2 separate regions of the Homo sapiens genome follow, and region 1 is linked to region 2. Evidence: promoter capture Hi-C in human tissues and cell types (Jung and others, 2019). All regions are on one chromosome and are shown on one strand. Each heading gives the region's core, a stretch centred on a gene start or on the middle of the fragment in contact. The rest is flanking DNA. Distances are from core to core; before and after follow the strand shown.

Evidence for each region. The method cuts DNA at HindIII sites, captures the fragments that hold promoters and counts their contacts. A contact is called where the count stands out against the background at its distance.
Region 1: a fragment that was not itself captured here is called in contact with the fragment with the promoter of RPS6KA1 in region 2 in 8 of the 25 tissues and cell types used here (H1 embryonic stem cells, bladder, dorsolateral prefrontal cortex and 5 more).

The regions. Positions count from the first base shown.
Region 1 is chr1:26,462,227-26,469,862 of GRCh38, forward strand. DHDDS (dehydrodolichyl diphosphate synthase subunit) reads left to right here. Exons shown (of 9, transcript NM_205861.3): 9 at 6,669-7,636. The coding sequence ends at 6,905. It overlaps DHDDS-AS1 (DHDDS antisense RNA 1), which reads right to left and starts at 5,311. Exons shown (of 3, transcript NR_125953.1): 1 at 4,822-5,311; 2 at 1,150-1,207; 3 at 530-644. The HindIII fragment of the contact is 4,677 bases long and covers 1,332-6,008 here.
Region 2 is chr1:26,527,815-26,534,540 of GRCh38, forward strand. It overlaps RPS6KA1 (ribosomal protein S6 kinase A1), which reads left to right and starts at 1,947. Exons shown (of 22, transcript NM_002953.4): 1 at 1,947-2,169. The coding sequence starts at 2,107. LOC124903884 (a long non-coding RNA gene) reads right to left here and starts at 3,584. Exons shown (of 2, transcript XR_007065558.1): 1 at 3,384-3,584; 2 at 1,306-2,747. RefSeq lists a silencer at 1,832-2,311 and enhancers at 2,553-3,463, 3,464-4,375. The HindIII fragment of the contact is 11,905 bases long and covers 1-6,726 here.

The sequences.
Region 1 (7,636 bases), core at 2,420-4,919, 64 kb before region 2:
CCCAGGCTGGTCTTGAACTCTTAAGCTCAAGTGATCCTCCTGCTTCGGCCTCCCCAGGTGCTAGGATTATAGACATGAGCCACCATGCCTGGCCGTCATATTCTAATGATTATGATAATAGTAATTATCATCTTTAAACACTTCATTGTACAACAATATCCTTGAGGGGTAGGGCTGTTTGCTCTAAGTTAGATGGTCCCAGAATACCTGGGTTTGAGGTTTCATGTATATTTTTCTGTGTCCTCCCTCTTTCATTTCCTACTGCTGTCAACAGTTAATTTTGACAGTATCTCTCCTCTTCCATAGTATTTACTGTTTTAAATCAGCTATAGACAAGGAAACCAGATAGTCAAGCTTGTTGGAATTATGTATATAAAATGAGAGTGAACTGGCTCTGCATGAAGCCCAAAGGAGCTTGGTGCATGAGTTTTTGTGTTTTTACCTCTAATTGGGCTGCTCAGAAGTCTTTTATAGTAATTTCACGTTTCTCAGATACTTTGCATATGGTTGTCAGAGGAGTTAACTCAAGTTTCATTCATTCCATAAGTATTTATTGAGTAGTATGAATCAGGCACTGTATTAGGCACAGGAGAGTCAACAGGTAGCCAGAGGGACAAGATCTCTACCTTTGTGGAACTTGTATTCTTGAGGAGACAGAAATAAACAAGTAAACAAATATATAAGTTCCGATTGTAATAAGGCAGTGAAGAATACAGAGTGATGTGCTAGAAAGTAATGAAGAGAATGCAAAGAGACTGAGGTTAAAGTTTGGGTCTTGGAAGAACAAAAAAGAGGTCAATGTGCCAAGGGAGAAGGGCAGGAAATGAGGCTAGAGTCAGACCTTGGCTCATATAGAGCCTTGTAGGTCATGGTAACAAAGCTGAAGGACTTTAATCAGGGGATGACGGGATCTGAGTTGCATTTTGTAAAAATCATTCAGAATTTTCAACGGGCTGGAGTTAAAGCCAAGAGACAGAACTCCTGCAGTAGTCCAGGTGAGAGAGGATGCGCCTCGAGGTAGGGTGGTGGCAGTAGGGAAGGGGAGGAGTGAAGACGGGATAAAAACAAATGTTGAAATAGAAACAAGTGAAACTAGCTATATCAAGGTGATAATATAACTCCCCAGAGAAAGGAATTAATTCAGCTTACCTGAACACAGTTCTCTGCTATTCATCTTTAGTGGAATTTCTTTTCAGGATAATACAAACTGCAACACAAAATTAAACATTACTTAAGAGGTTTATTGTTAGTGGCAATGTTGGTAATGTAATTATGAAACTCTTGTTTCTTTTTTTTTGAAATGGAGTTTCGCTCTTGTTGCCCAGGCTGGAGTGCAATGGCGTGATCTCGGCTCACTGCAACCTCCGCCTCCCAGGTTCAAGCGATTCTCCTGCCTCAGCCTCCCAAGTGGCTGGGATTACAGGCATGTGCCACCACATCTGGCTAATTTTATATTTTTAGTAGAGATGGGGTTTCTCCATGTTGGTCAGGCTGGTCTCAAACCCCCGACCTCAGGTGATCTGCCCGCCTCGGCCTCCCAAAGTGCTGGGATTACAGGCGTGAACCACCGCGACCGGCCTGAAACTCTTGTTTCTTGTAGGCTAAAACAAATAAGTACAAATAATAATGTTATTAGGAACCAAGACACTTAGGTTGTGGCCATAGCAATTGGTTGTATAGTTCTGCTGTTTCCTGGGATGGGGTGGAAGGTGTTTGAGGTCAACTATTAAGTGTTCCATTTTTACCTATGGATCATATTTGCAAACTTTTTTTTTTTTTTTTTTTTTTTTGAGACGGAATCTCACTCTGTCGCTGGAGAACAGTGGCATGATCTCGGCTCACTGCAACCTCTGCCTCCCGGATTCAAGCAATTCTCCTGCCTCAGCCTCCCATGTAGCTGGGACTACAGGCACGTGCCACCACGCACAACTAATTTTTGTATTTTTAGTAGAGACAGGGTTTCACCATGTTGGCCAGGCTGGTCTCAAAATCCTGACCTCAGGTGATCCACCCACCTTGGCCTCCGAAAGTGCTAGGATTACAGGCATGAGCCGCTGCGCCCGGCCTATATTTGCAAACTTTTATTGAGTTCTTACCACATGTCAGGCATCCTTCCAGTATTGAGTTCTTACCACATGTCAGGCATCCTTTCAGTAAATTCTGTGAACTGCTTTAAGGCAGATACTATTATTATTGCCTCTGTTTTTAGAGCAAGGAATCCAAAGTTATAATAGAGATACTGATTATCTTGAAGCCTTCTCCAGCAGGAGCCCTTGGAGGTCCTGGCCAGGCTTTCTCTACCCCAGAAGCTTCAAAGCTCTGTTTCTAGAAATCATATCACCTTGGCAGATGCACTAAGGGGAGAATCCAGACTAACAGCATCCTCACCAGTTTGTTCTCAGACCAGAGAGGTCTTTCCAGGCTTTTCTCATGTCTCCCTTTTACAGACCCTGTATCATGGCCAAACTGGACTCTTCCCAGTTACCTGTTCCATGCCCTCCAGTTTCCTACCTGTATGTCTGTGCTCTTGCCCCATCACCCAAATTCCCATTTTAAAATCTGAGCTGCTCTGTCTCTAGGCCCTGCCCAATGTGTCCCTATTCTCTGCAGGAAGCCAGGGCAAGGGGCTAGGCTCTGGACCTAGAGTAGCTTACTGAGAGGAAGGCAGCGGGTGGATCGTAAGGGAAGCAGGGACTTGGCTACAAGTTGTGGGGAGCCAGACCTTGGTATCTGAATGGACCATGACAGTCTCCAGGTGGTCACCTAGCCAGTCTTAAAGGCTGGCAAAGGGAGATCTTGACTATGATGCAGTAGGACTTGTCAGCAAAGAGGCAGGGACAAATAGAGAATCAGGCCAGGGAGGGGGTGTGCGGCAGTGCAGAGCAGCTGATCCTCAATCACAAGTTGCATGGATGGTAGGTCCTTGAGAGGTCACTGATGGAGATGAGTAAAAAGTGTTCACCTCATCTCCAAGGATGATATTAGAGAGGGAAAAGACACATGTTCCCACGAAGCTTCCTGTAGTACATTTGTCACAATTTAAACGGGCTGGATTGAACATTATATTTCTTCTGCTCTTCAGGTTGTCACTATCTTCTCCTCAGGATAAAAGCTTGAGTTATGTATGTATGCATATATGTATGCATGTGGAAATGGGGTCTCGCCATGTTGCCCAGGCTGGTCTTGAGCAGCTGGGCTCAAGCGAGCCTCCCACCTTAGCCTAAAAGCTTGAGTTAATGTCTCAGACATTCATGACTTTGAATATTGGCACTGCCTACATAGCTATATGACTGTACAGTTACTTAACCCCTCAGAGTATCATTTTCCTCACCTGTAAAATGAGAGAAGTAGCGTTTACAGTAATACCTACCTTGCAGGTTTGTGATAGGGATTCAGTAAGCTAACACATGTCAAGTGCTGAGTGCAGTGGCTGGAACAGAGTTCATTTTCCAAGAATGGTGGCCAATATTGTTCCCCACATGTGTGTCTCTTGGCCTCTCCTCAGACTCCTCTCTGGAAAAGCACCCTGCACATCCTGTCCCCAGTACAACTCCCCAGGCAAGGAGACTCTGAGGGTGCTTCAGAACATCATGTTTCTGGTAGGAGGTGCCCTTCTCTGCCTGAGAGCAGCCCTCAGAAATGCATTCCTCATGCTGCTGACCTGGGCTGGCTGGTTGCAGCTTGGGGAAGGACTTTTCATTGGCTAATGTTTTGAAGCCAAGGACCTGCAGCCTCTCTCCAGGTGCCAACAGAGTGGTAGAGGACTTTTAGATTTAAGTACTGGAGGGACTATTACATCTTGTTCTCTGATTCTACCAAGGAGAGAATAAGAGCAGAGAGGGATAATGCCCAGGAGGAATTTAGATTCATAGGTTAGAACCACATTTCTCAAAGTGAGCTTCTTGGAGCCCTTGCACCAAGATTGGATAAGGTCTGTACAAAAAGTCTCTAAGGAAAGAATTAACGCCCTCACTTACCCTGATTGGTCATTATACAAGGATAGTAGACAAATGGTCAGGGAGAGAAAAGTTGACCTCTAGGACTTCTGTTAGCTTGGATTTCCCAAGGGTAAGTACTTGAGAAGAACTGGAAACACCTCTGAGATTGAAAGGGTAGATTCAGACCATGTGGAAGCTGGATAGACAGGTATCCAGATACAGGCCACCAGCTTTTCCACCCCTAGAAAGTAGAGCTTATACACAGGCACGAGATACACTTCACATTGTCCTCTCAAGAAGTTATCTTAGTGGAGAAGCCAAGGGAACTTCAGCCATCTCAGCCTCGCTGTCATTTTCTGTAAAATGACGAGCAGACACCCTCCCAACTCTGCTATCTGAACAATGAACTGCTAATTCCTGGCAGACAGGGGCCAGGCTCTGCCTGGGCTACAGCCCCCATTGCTGGCATGCACTCTGATGCCATCTGGAAGAAGCTTGCGCCTCATGAAGTGGCTTTAGCTAGCTCCATATTTCCTCCCTCTGTTGCTGAGCGTCCCCCATCCTTTCTGTTCTGCCAGAAACTTAGACTACTTAGCCCAGTCCACAAGTGGCGGTGATAGAACAGCTAACAGTTAATAGCCAAGCAGTAGGCTGAAAATTCATTATCTCATTTTTCCTCAAACAACCCAGTGAGGTGGGTACTCTTATCCCGGTTTTGCAGAGTAAGAGAGAGCCTTAGAGAGGTGAGGGAGGCCTTAGGAACTTCTCAAACCCCAGTGCTCCAGGTGGACTTACTCTGGCCTTAACAGGCTCTTCGGTTCCATGCATCTTTGCTCATTACTCCCACTGCCAGAATATTCTCCCTGCCCCCCACACACCTCACCTCTGTTTGAATCCTCCTCATTGGTTAAAGGGCCAGCTCAAATTCTGTCTGTCCATGAAGGTCACTGCTCCGTGATGTTCATCAGCCACACTTGCTTTCTCCTCTGAACTGCATGACCCTTACCACATCCTATTTTGCATCGTGGCACTCTGTGTGCATGGCTGTACAATCAGCCTGTAAGCACCTGGATTGCTGGGATCGTGTCCTGCGCATCTCCATATCCTCAAAAAAAATCCTGTATGTAGCACCCAGGGAGCCTCCTGACCAAGGCCTGGAAGAAGCCCTTCCAGCAAGACGGAGAGCTCTACGGCAACTGTTCAAGCCCGAAGTCCTCATAGCTCCACATGTAATTCATTGTAATAGCAGAAGAGAAGTATTCTTGAATGCCTGGGATTATTCAGGAGCCGGGGGGGACAGTCCAGAATTCTCATTTGTCATCCTTATTCATGCAGTAAACCTTTATTGCTGAGAGACAGCAAATCAGTTCCCTGCTCCATGTCTGTCTCCAGCAGAAAGTACCTCCCTCACAGCTCCATTGTGAGGGTCAAGTGAGGCAACAGATGAAGTGGTTGTGCACATGTAAGATATTCTTTAAACCATGAAGACAGAGCAGTCAAGGTGCTTACAGGCTGATTAGGACAAAAACATGTATACAAGTTTATCGTAATACAAGGTAGAATGTGGGAAGGGTCATCAGGGTATAGGATACCATAGGAAAATAGAGTTTCTCACACATGGAATAGGTTTGGCAGGAGGAGCTCTAGTGCAAAGGCTTTGCAGGTCAGTTAGACTGGCAGGAACAGAGAGGATCAGTGAGGCACAGGAAAGCCTTGGTTCTGCTCCAAAGGGATTTTCCGCTCTTCTGTATCAGGAGCATCCTCACTGCTCTCCTGGGATCACGTGGTCAGTCAGTTGAGTGTTTCACATGTACAGGGCACCCCAAGTGCTGGAGAGGAAGAAGCCCAGTCTCTGCCCTCTAGTACTTGGGATGATAACTGCTGCCAGGGAGTATGATCACCACCTGGTGTCAGAGCTGGTTGCAAGAGGCTTGAAGGCTCTCAAACTTCCAAGGGCTTATTTTCTAACAGAAAGAGTGGATTGTGAACACTAACACTTATTCTACTATGCAGAATGCAATAAGTGGCTTAAGAGAGTTGAACCTGCTTCTCAGAATGTTCATAGGGGGGTCATTTGCTGGAAGGATCAGGCTGGTCTTCATACAGGAGGCAAGTCTGGAGCTCTGAAAAATAGCCTAGGGAGTGGGGAGGATGGTACCCTCAGAGGAAAACCTGGGGAGATCAAAGGAAGTGACCCAAGGGACATGTCCCCGACAAGAATAGGACCTTTCTTGCAGCGGAGAATAGACAATAACAACTTGTAAAATTGCTGTTTCTGTCTAAGAGCCTGCTAATATCCTAGAGAGGATTTTGCATATGTTATCTCTAATCCTTAAAACCACTCTTCAAGGTAGGCACAACCCCCACTTTACAGATGAAGAAATGAGGTTAGGACAGGATTTGCCCAAAGACACAAAGCCAGTTGATGGGGGAATCAGAAGTCAGACCCACATTTGTTTGGTTCCAAGAGCATGAGAAAAACTTTAAGAAGTACAGACGCTTCCACACAAAACAAACCAAGATGGACCCAGAATTGCCACTGCCCTGCCTGTACAACATGAGCACCACCCACTGCATACCTACTCCCAAGCCTTTTCAAATCTGGTACCTACTTTCCACTGTTCCACTTCACTTGGCCCACCCTGTGCCCCACCCCCTACCTCCTCCATCCCAGTTTCACCCACTCCTAAAAATGATCTCCCCACCCCAATCCCCACTTTTCTCTAGCAGAAGGCCCGAGACATGTATGCAGAGGAGCGGAAGAGGCAGCAGCTGGAGAGGGACCAGGCTACAGTGACAGAGCAGCTGCTGCGAGAGGGGCTCCAAGCCAGTGGGGACGCCCAGCTCCGAAGGACACGCTTGCACAAACTCTCGGCCAGACGGGAAGAGCGAGTCCAAGGCTTCCTGCAGGCCTTGGAACTCAAGCGAGCTGACTGGCTGGCCCGTCTGGGCACTGCATCAGCCTGAATGAGGCTGGCCACCTGCCACTTTGCCCTGCCCTCTGCCTCCAGGGCTCCACTCCCCTTCCTTTTCTTGGTGAAAGGCACCTCCTTTCCTGATAATGAATGGTGTTCCCTTTGCTTGGCTGGGGAGCCCCCCAGGCCAGGTTTGCTGGCCATAGATACCTTTGGGCTGCCTGGGACAGGCTCCTGAGGAGGATTGAGGGTGAAAGTCTCCCACGAGTACACTAAACCTAGGTCTGGTCACCAATAGGGTTTGGAGAGCAAAGGGCCACAACTCATCAGCTGCCTGTCTCTTAGATGCACTTTCTTTTTCCACCAGCACATCCTTCAACACACAGAATTTCAGGGAAGAGTTCTCCCCAAAACCCTAGCTCTTTACCCTTCCATTTTAGCCTTCCACCCAGCTTCCACAAAAGATTTGGCTCTACCTTGGATCTGCTAGTAAATAACTAATAGGCAGGCAGTTATTTGGGTAAGGAAAAAAGGGGTGGGAGAGACAGAAAATTTGCCCATCTGCTGCTCCTCCCCCTTGGCTCTCCACCTGGGATTTGCTATTGAATCTCTACCCTCTCCCACCACACAGTACTGATTGCTCACTGAAAGACTCAGCACCCCCAATGGTGCGCGGAAGCCAGGCGGGCGATTACAATCCAATTACCTATTGTCGACTCAGCCCACACAAGCTTTTCTCCTCCTCTTGCAGGGCATGGGGCCAGGCTCCACTCCCAAATGAGA
Region 2 (6,726 bases), core at 697-3,196:
CACTGCACTGCAGCCTAGGCAACAGAGCGAGACTCCGTCTCTAAAAAACAAATAAAAAATATATAGCTGTAAATTTATTGAATTAAAATGAATCTTGTCCTATATACCTGAAAGATTGAGATTATAATTCCCATTTTACAGATGGAGAAATTGAGGTTTAGAGGCATAAAATGAGTTTCCCTGTGTTAAGAAGGTAGCAGAGCTGGAATTCAAACCCAGAATTGTTGGGTTCCAAAGTCCTTTCACTCAAAATTCAGTTCAACAGCTGAGGTCCTACCCTGGGAAAGCCATGGAAAAGGGGGAGCACGTGGATTCTGGAGAAATCCTTATCCACTTTGATTTTTTTTTTTTTGAGATGGAGTCTCTGTCGCCCAGGCTGGAGTGCAGTGGGGGCTATCTCCGCTTACTGCAAGCTCCGCCTCCCGGGTTCACACCATTCTCCTGCCTAAGCCTCCCGAGTAGCTGGGACTACAGGTGCCTGCCACCACGCCCTACTAATTTTTTGTATTTTTAGTAGAGACAGGGTTTCATCATGTTAGCCAGGATGGTTTCAATCTCCTGACCTCGTGATCCGCCCGCCTCGGCCTCCCAGTGCTGGGATTACAGGTGTGACACTTTGATTTTTTTAAGCCCTAGTCTGTTCTCAACCTCTTGTGTGACCTTGGGTAAGTCACTTCATCTTTCCGAGCTTGTTTCAGGATTTGTAAACTAGGTGGTGGTAATCATTCAAGGAAATCACATGGCTCGCAGGAAGCTTTTGATAAACATTCCTTCCCATTCCCCTGCCTTAGAACAGCTTTGCAAATAACTGACCAGTCTTCCTGCGAAACCAGCAAGCTTGTCCCTCCAGCAAGCTCACTCCTCACATGTGAATACATCTCAGCACACCCGGACCCCTAAGGCTCTTTAGGTGGAGGCTGAATCTCTCTGGGGCAACCAGTCTCCCTGGCCTTTCACTCCAAGTCCCACCAAGCCTCGGTTCATCCTGGGAGCCTGGTCCCTCCTCAGAGAGTCGCAAACCCAAACTAGTCCAGAGCTGGGGCTGCAGGTGACTCCAGGGAGACCTGACCTGAAAGGACCCCCTTCAAGTGATAGGGCAGAGCACAGATTGCAAAAACGCATATTAAGAAATCACTCTTGGCCGGGCGCGGTGGCTCATGCCTGTAATCCCAGCACTTTGGGAGGCCGAGGCAGGAGGATCACTTGAGCCGGGGAGTCAGAGACCAGCCTAGGTAACAAAGCGAAACTTCGTGTCTCTCTCTCTCTCACTATATACACACATACATACATATATGTGCATATATATAATATTTATTTATACATATTTATTTATATATGTAATATTTATATACATTATGTAAAATCAATCGATCAATCAATCACTCTGTGGTGGCACTATGGGTCCTGATGGTGGTAACAACTGCTGATGCCCATCTTGGCCTGGGGCACTGAGATCGCCCGGAGATCACAGTGTTAGCTTCAGGGCGGGGTAGAAATTAGAGGATAGGGGATCTCTAGGGCCTGGTGAGTTGAGGGCCTAAGGGGAGTGGGTCTCAGGCTCCTTCCAAGCCTCAGCCTAGATCAGGCCCAGGAACCCAGTGTGAATGTGTGTGCTGGGGTCGGGGATAAGGTGCTTCTCTCCCGTTGGAAGGAGAAGGAACATCTGGGCTGGGATTCCAAAAGAGCTGAGCGGGGGAGAACGGTGGCCCTGGTGTGGTGTGTCCAGGGGTACACCACTGGAAGGGAAGGAGCCAGCAGGGCCTCTCCGGCGGAGCCGAGCGCGGGCCGGGGGCTCGCGGCAGGGGCGGGGCCGGCCCTCGGGGCGCGGCGGGGGCGGGGGTCCGCGCTGGGAATGCCGCGCCGCGGGGGCTGGGGCGGGGCTTCTCCGGCTCCGCCCCCGCGCAGGTAGCCAATGGGCGCGGCGGCGCCGGGTGACGGAGGGAGCCGAAGTGCTAGTGCCGCGGCGGCGGCGGCGGACGGCCCAGCCGGAGCGCGAGGGGCTCGGGGGGGCGCGGCGGTTCGGGTCGCAGAGCCAGGGACCCCAGGACCCGGGAGGCGGCGCAGCCGGGGCCGCCGGAGGAGCGCGGGTGACCTGGCGGCGGCGAGATGCCGCTCGCCCAGCTCAAGGAGCCCTGGCCGCTCATGGAGCTAGTGCCTCTGGACCCGGAGGTGAGTGAGCGGGGCGGGGGACGGGCGCCCGCGGCCGGCGAGCCCGGATCCTCACAGGGGCGGGGCGGCCCGAAGCGCCGCTGCAGTCCGGCGGGCGCCCGCGAGGGCGCGAGTGCCCTCCGATCTCTTGCCCACTGTCCGGCTCCACCCCCCTATGCCCGGGTGTGCGTGTGCGAGGGACAGTTCCGCCAAGCGCCGACTACCTCCCCGCCATAGCCAGGAGAGGGGATCCTATGGGGCGCTGAGATCTGGTCGCCTTCACCCCACACCTAGGACCCGTCCCGGCATCTGTCCAGAGCTGTCGGAGCTTCCTCCATTAATGCAGACGGGGAGATCTTCAGTGCCAGATGTCTGGGATTCTACCAGAGACAGGGGTTATGGGACCCCCACTTCTCCCAGGGCCCTCCGCCAAGAGCTCCCTGCTTCTGGCTTCACCGCTGCTGAGCCTAGAAGGATTGCTCCTCTTGACCCCTGGCGGATGCGGAGTGTGGGATGGCACCACCCGTCTGGGGCTGGAACTCCTGGTTTTCTTTGCCCTGAGGCTAGGGCCAGAGGACACCTGTGTGCCCTACCCCAGGCTGTGGAGACGAGAGTGGGGAAGAGCCCTTAGACCTTGTGAAGATGATTCCTGGCAGGGCGTGGGGGGACCTTGGTGCCTGCCTCCCTTCTTATGCCCCTTCCGGTAGGAAGGGCTGGGCCCTTGGGGAGTTTGGCTTCTGCCAGCCCAGACTCCCCAGACAACCCAGCTCCTTCTCTCTCAGAAGCAGCTCCTGACCTCCCTTGAGGGCTCTGTGGCTCCAGTCCCTAAGCGTGCAGAAGGCCACCTCTTCCTGTGCCTTTTGACCCCAGGGTCAAGGTCAAGCCCCTGAATGAGCTGGTGGAAAACTTCCTCCTTAACCTCTTGCTGGGAAGGAAGCAGGTGATATTCTCCTTCCCAGGTGGTTGTTGGGGGTATGCAGGGAGGGAATGGAGACCTCATTTGAGCCCAGGAGCTGAGATGACTTTCTCCCAGCTTGGGCCTGGAGCCCCTGTCTCAGTCCCCTCCTCTGCCCTCTCTTACCTAGGGCAGCCACCAAGTGTCCTGCCTCTCAGGACCACAGGCTTAGATCAGGGTGAGCACCCAGGGTCCCCAGCCCCCAGGGTGTGCTGCCCCTTTAAAGGGATGGCCGACACTGGCTATTGGAGGGTGGGCGCGGCAGGATTAGGTAACCAACCTGAAGGAGCAATTTGGAGTAAATTGCTCTGGGATTCCTGCCATGGGGATTTTACAGGCACTGCTAGGCTGCTCAGAGGTTCTCTCGCTGACTCACCCTCTGAGGTGAGGAACACTGCCCTCTGCAGCCCCTGTACTGCCACCCCGCTACTAGGACCGGGGCGCAAGGTCCTGGGGGTGGTGCTCAGAGGTGGATTCCTTTGCCCAGGCACGCCCCTGGGACCAGGCCTCCAAAGGAGAAGGTAGGGCTGGGAGAGGCTGGGGAGTGACTTTATGCTGATAGGGAGGGTGGACACCCAGGAGCTCGATCCTGGGGCACCACTTCCTGCTTCTCTTTAGGGAATCCTGAGGCAGGGGCCAGCTTCACCAGGGAGCCAGGTTTAACTGGGAAACTCATCTCAGTTTTGAGTTCTGTAACATCTCAGGTCTGTGAGAGGGGAAGACCAGCGGACTTCCTGGGATTGGTGGGGCAGGGGGACGCAATTTCCTCAGGAGCTTCGCTCCAGAAACGATGTGTGATCCTCAGTCAGTCCTCAGCCTGTCTGGGCCTCTGCTTCTCCAGTGGCAAGTGCTAGGTTCTAGCCTCCACTTCCTGGGCCTGAGAGGGTGCAGAGCGCTGGGTACTGTTGTCTGGTCCCCCCTCCCCCACTCCTGGAGGTGCCAGGCGACTGGGTGTTATTGTTTGGGTAACAGGAGCCACAGGGCAGCCACGGCGCAGGTTGGGCTGTTCTCACTGGAGAACAGGGCCTCGCTGTTCTTAGCCCAGGTGACATGTAAGCGATACAGCCGCCTGACCTGCACGTACAGGCACCACCACTGCTGGCAGCTCCTAGCCAGGAAGGAGGCAGGTGAGGGGCTGGTGGGGGACTTTTCACAGGGACCTAGGATCTGGACTGCCCTGCCCTCCCTTAATGCTGCTGAAAATGGGCCGCTGGGAGGCAGGGCCTGGCCCAGGGTGCAGCCCAGGTGGAGTAATCTATGGGAAGCGTGGGTGAGGATTCTGCCTGGGCCTCGCTTAGCCCTGTTGAAAGCAGTAGCCTTGTCCCCAGGCCCAGTTCTGCCACGTACAGAGCTTTACTATGTGCCACCCACTCTGCCTTACGAATGTCACCCCACTTTAATTCTCACAACAGCTTCTCAAGATAGGGATTATTACCCCTGTTTTCAGATGGGACAACTGAAAACTCAGGCTTATGTGTTAATATCAGAGCCAGGATTGGAACCAAGATCTCTCTCTTCCACCAAGTGGGAGAGAGGCTCAGGGATGGGGAAGGGCTGGAGCCACACTAGCCCAGGTGGAAGGTGCTCCAAGAGAGGCTCCGGATGTTGGCGGACTCTCCTTATCCTGCAAGGCCCTCGTCCAGTCTTTGCCGAGGGCTGGCAGTGCCAGCCAGCCCTGGCACCTGGCCCCCAGCCTCCAGCAGTGAGCAGGGCTGCCAATGCTGGGCTCAGAACCCAGCTCCTGGGGCTGCTTCCTGCCTGTGGGGCACGTGCTGTCCTTCTCCATCTGCTGCCCAGCTTCTCCAGACGCTGCCCTGGGCCCCTCTTTCTAAGACAGAGTTGCTTGGGTGGGAAGGAATGATGCCAGTTGGAACCCATTTCTGACATCTCAGAACTGGGGGCAGTGGTCTGGGGCCCTGGGCATCTGTCCTCATGAGCAGTGCTCTCTGAGGAAGAGGGAGGAGTGTGGGTCTTCAACCTCTAAGAGGCCAAAGGACTCCTAAGACAAAGTCCTTCATTCAGTACTCTGCAAGGTCAGCACCATTGTCCCCATTCAGTCATTTATTTAGCACTTAGGTGATAAGTACTATTTCAGACAACAAAGTGCAGATGTCAGCAAGACACACCTGCCCTCGTGATACAGATGAGGAAACTGAGACTTTATTACTATTATTATTTTTTGAGACATAGTCTTGCTCTGTCACCAGGCTGGAGTGCAGTGGCGTGATCTCGGCTCACTGCAACCTCCACCTCCCGGGTTCAAGTGATTCTCCTGCTTCAGCCTCCTGAGTAGCTGGGACTACAGGCCCGTGTCACCATGCCCAGCTAATTTTTGTATTTTTAGTAGAGTCAGGTTTTCACCATGTTGACCAGGATGGTCTCGATCTCTTGACCTCGTGATCCTCGTGATCTGTGAGGCCTCTTGGCCTCAGCCTCCCAAAGTGCTGGGATTACAGACATGAGCCACTGCGCCTGGCCGAAACTGAGACTTCAAAAAGTGATATGAGGCCACGCGTGGTGGCTCATGACTGTAATCCTAGCACTTTGGGAGCCTGAGGCGGGTGGATCACCTGAGGTCAGGAGTTTGAGACCAGCTGGGCCAACATGGCGAAACCCCGCCTCTACTAAAAATACAAAAATTAGCCAGGTGTGGTGGTGCGGCCTATATTCCCAGCTACTTGGGAGGCTGAGGCAGAAGAATTGCTTGAACCCAGCGGGGCAGAGGTTGCAGTGAGCTGAGATTGCGCCGCTGCACTCCAGCCTGGGCAAAAGAGTGAAACTGTCTCAAAAAATAAATAAAAATAAAAATAAAAAGTGATATGACAGACCCAAGGGCAGAATAAGTGGCTGGCAGAGCTAGGATTAGTGGCTGTATCTTTGTGGCTGCACAGCTGTGTTCTTTCAAGGATTGCTATGCAGCAGTCAGGCCAGAGGGGCAGATGACCCCGGACCCAGGACCCAGGCTCTGAGTGGGAAGCCAGCACCCCACAACCCCCCTGACCCCCCTACCAGTCTGTTCTCCAGGGCTGCCTGTTCCCTTACTCTTACAGGTTTGGCGTTCCATAAGAATGACACCCAAGCCAGAGATCCAGGGAGTAGAGGCAGCCAGACTGCCTTAGAGCGGGGGGTCCCTAAGTCATCCAGGCCACTGCTCAAGAAACCCACACCTCTAGGTACACCTACCCCTTCCTCCCCACCCTCAGTAGGCTTGCAGCCACGTGACTTTGGGTTATGGTCACATGTCTGCCACCTGCCTGCTGAGGGACCTCGGTGAGTCCCTTAACTCTCCTGAGCCTCATCTGAAAAATAGGAGTAATAGAACCTGCTCTGGCCTCCTTGCTGTCTTTGCTGGGTTGAACTTTCACTGGATAAACCACATGCTGGACTCTGGCTGGGTGCCAAGATGTTGATGATGGACAAGCCATGGCCCCTTCCCGAGTTAACCTGCAGCATGCTTAGGTTATGGGGGTAGAGAGGAGGGAGGAAAGAACATGAGGCTGTGTGGACAGGGGTGACATTTGAATTCAGTCCTGATAAAAGATCAGGAGTTTGCCAAAGTGACAAGGCAGGAAAGGCTTTCTTGGTAGAGGGAGCCACCATACAAATGCTGGGGATATAAAATA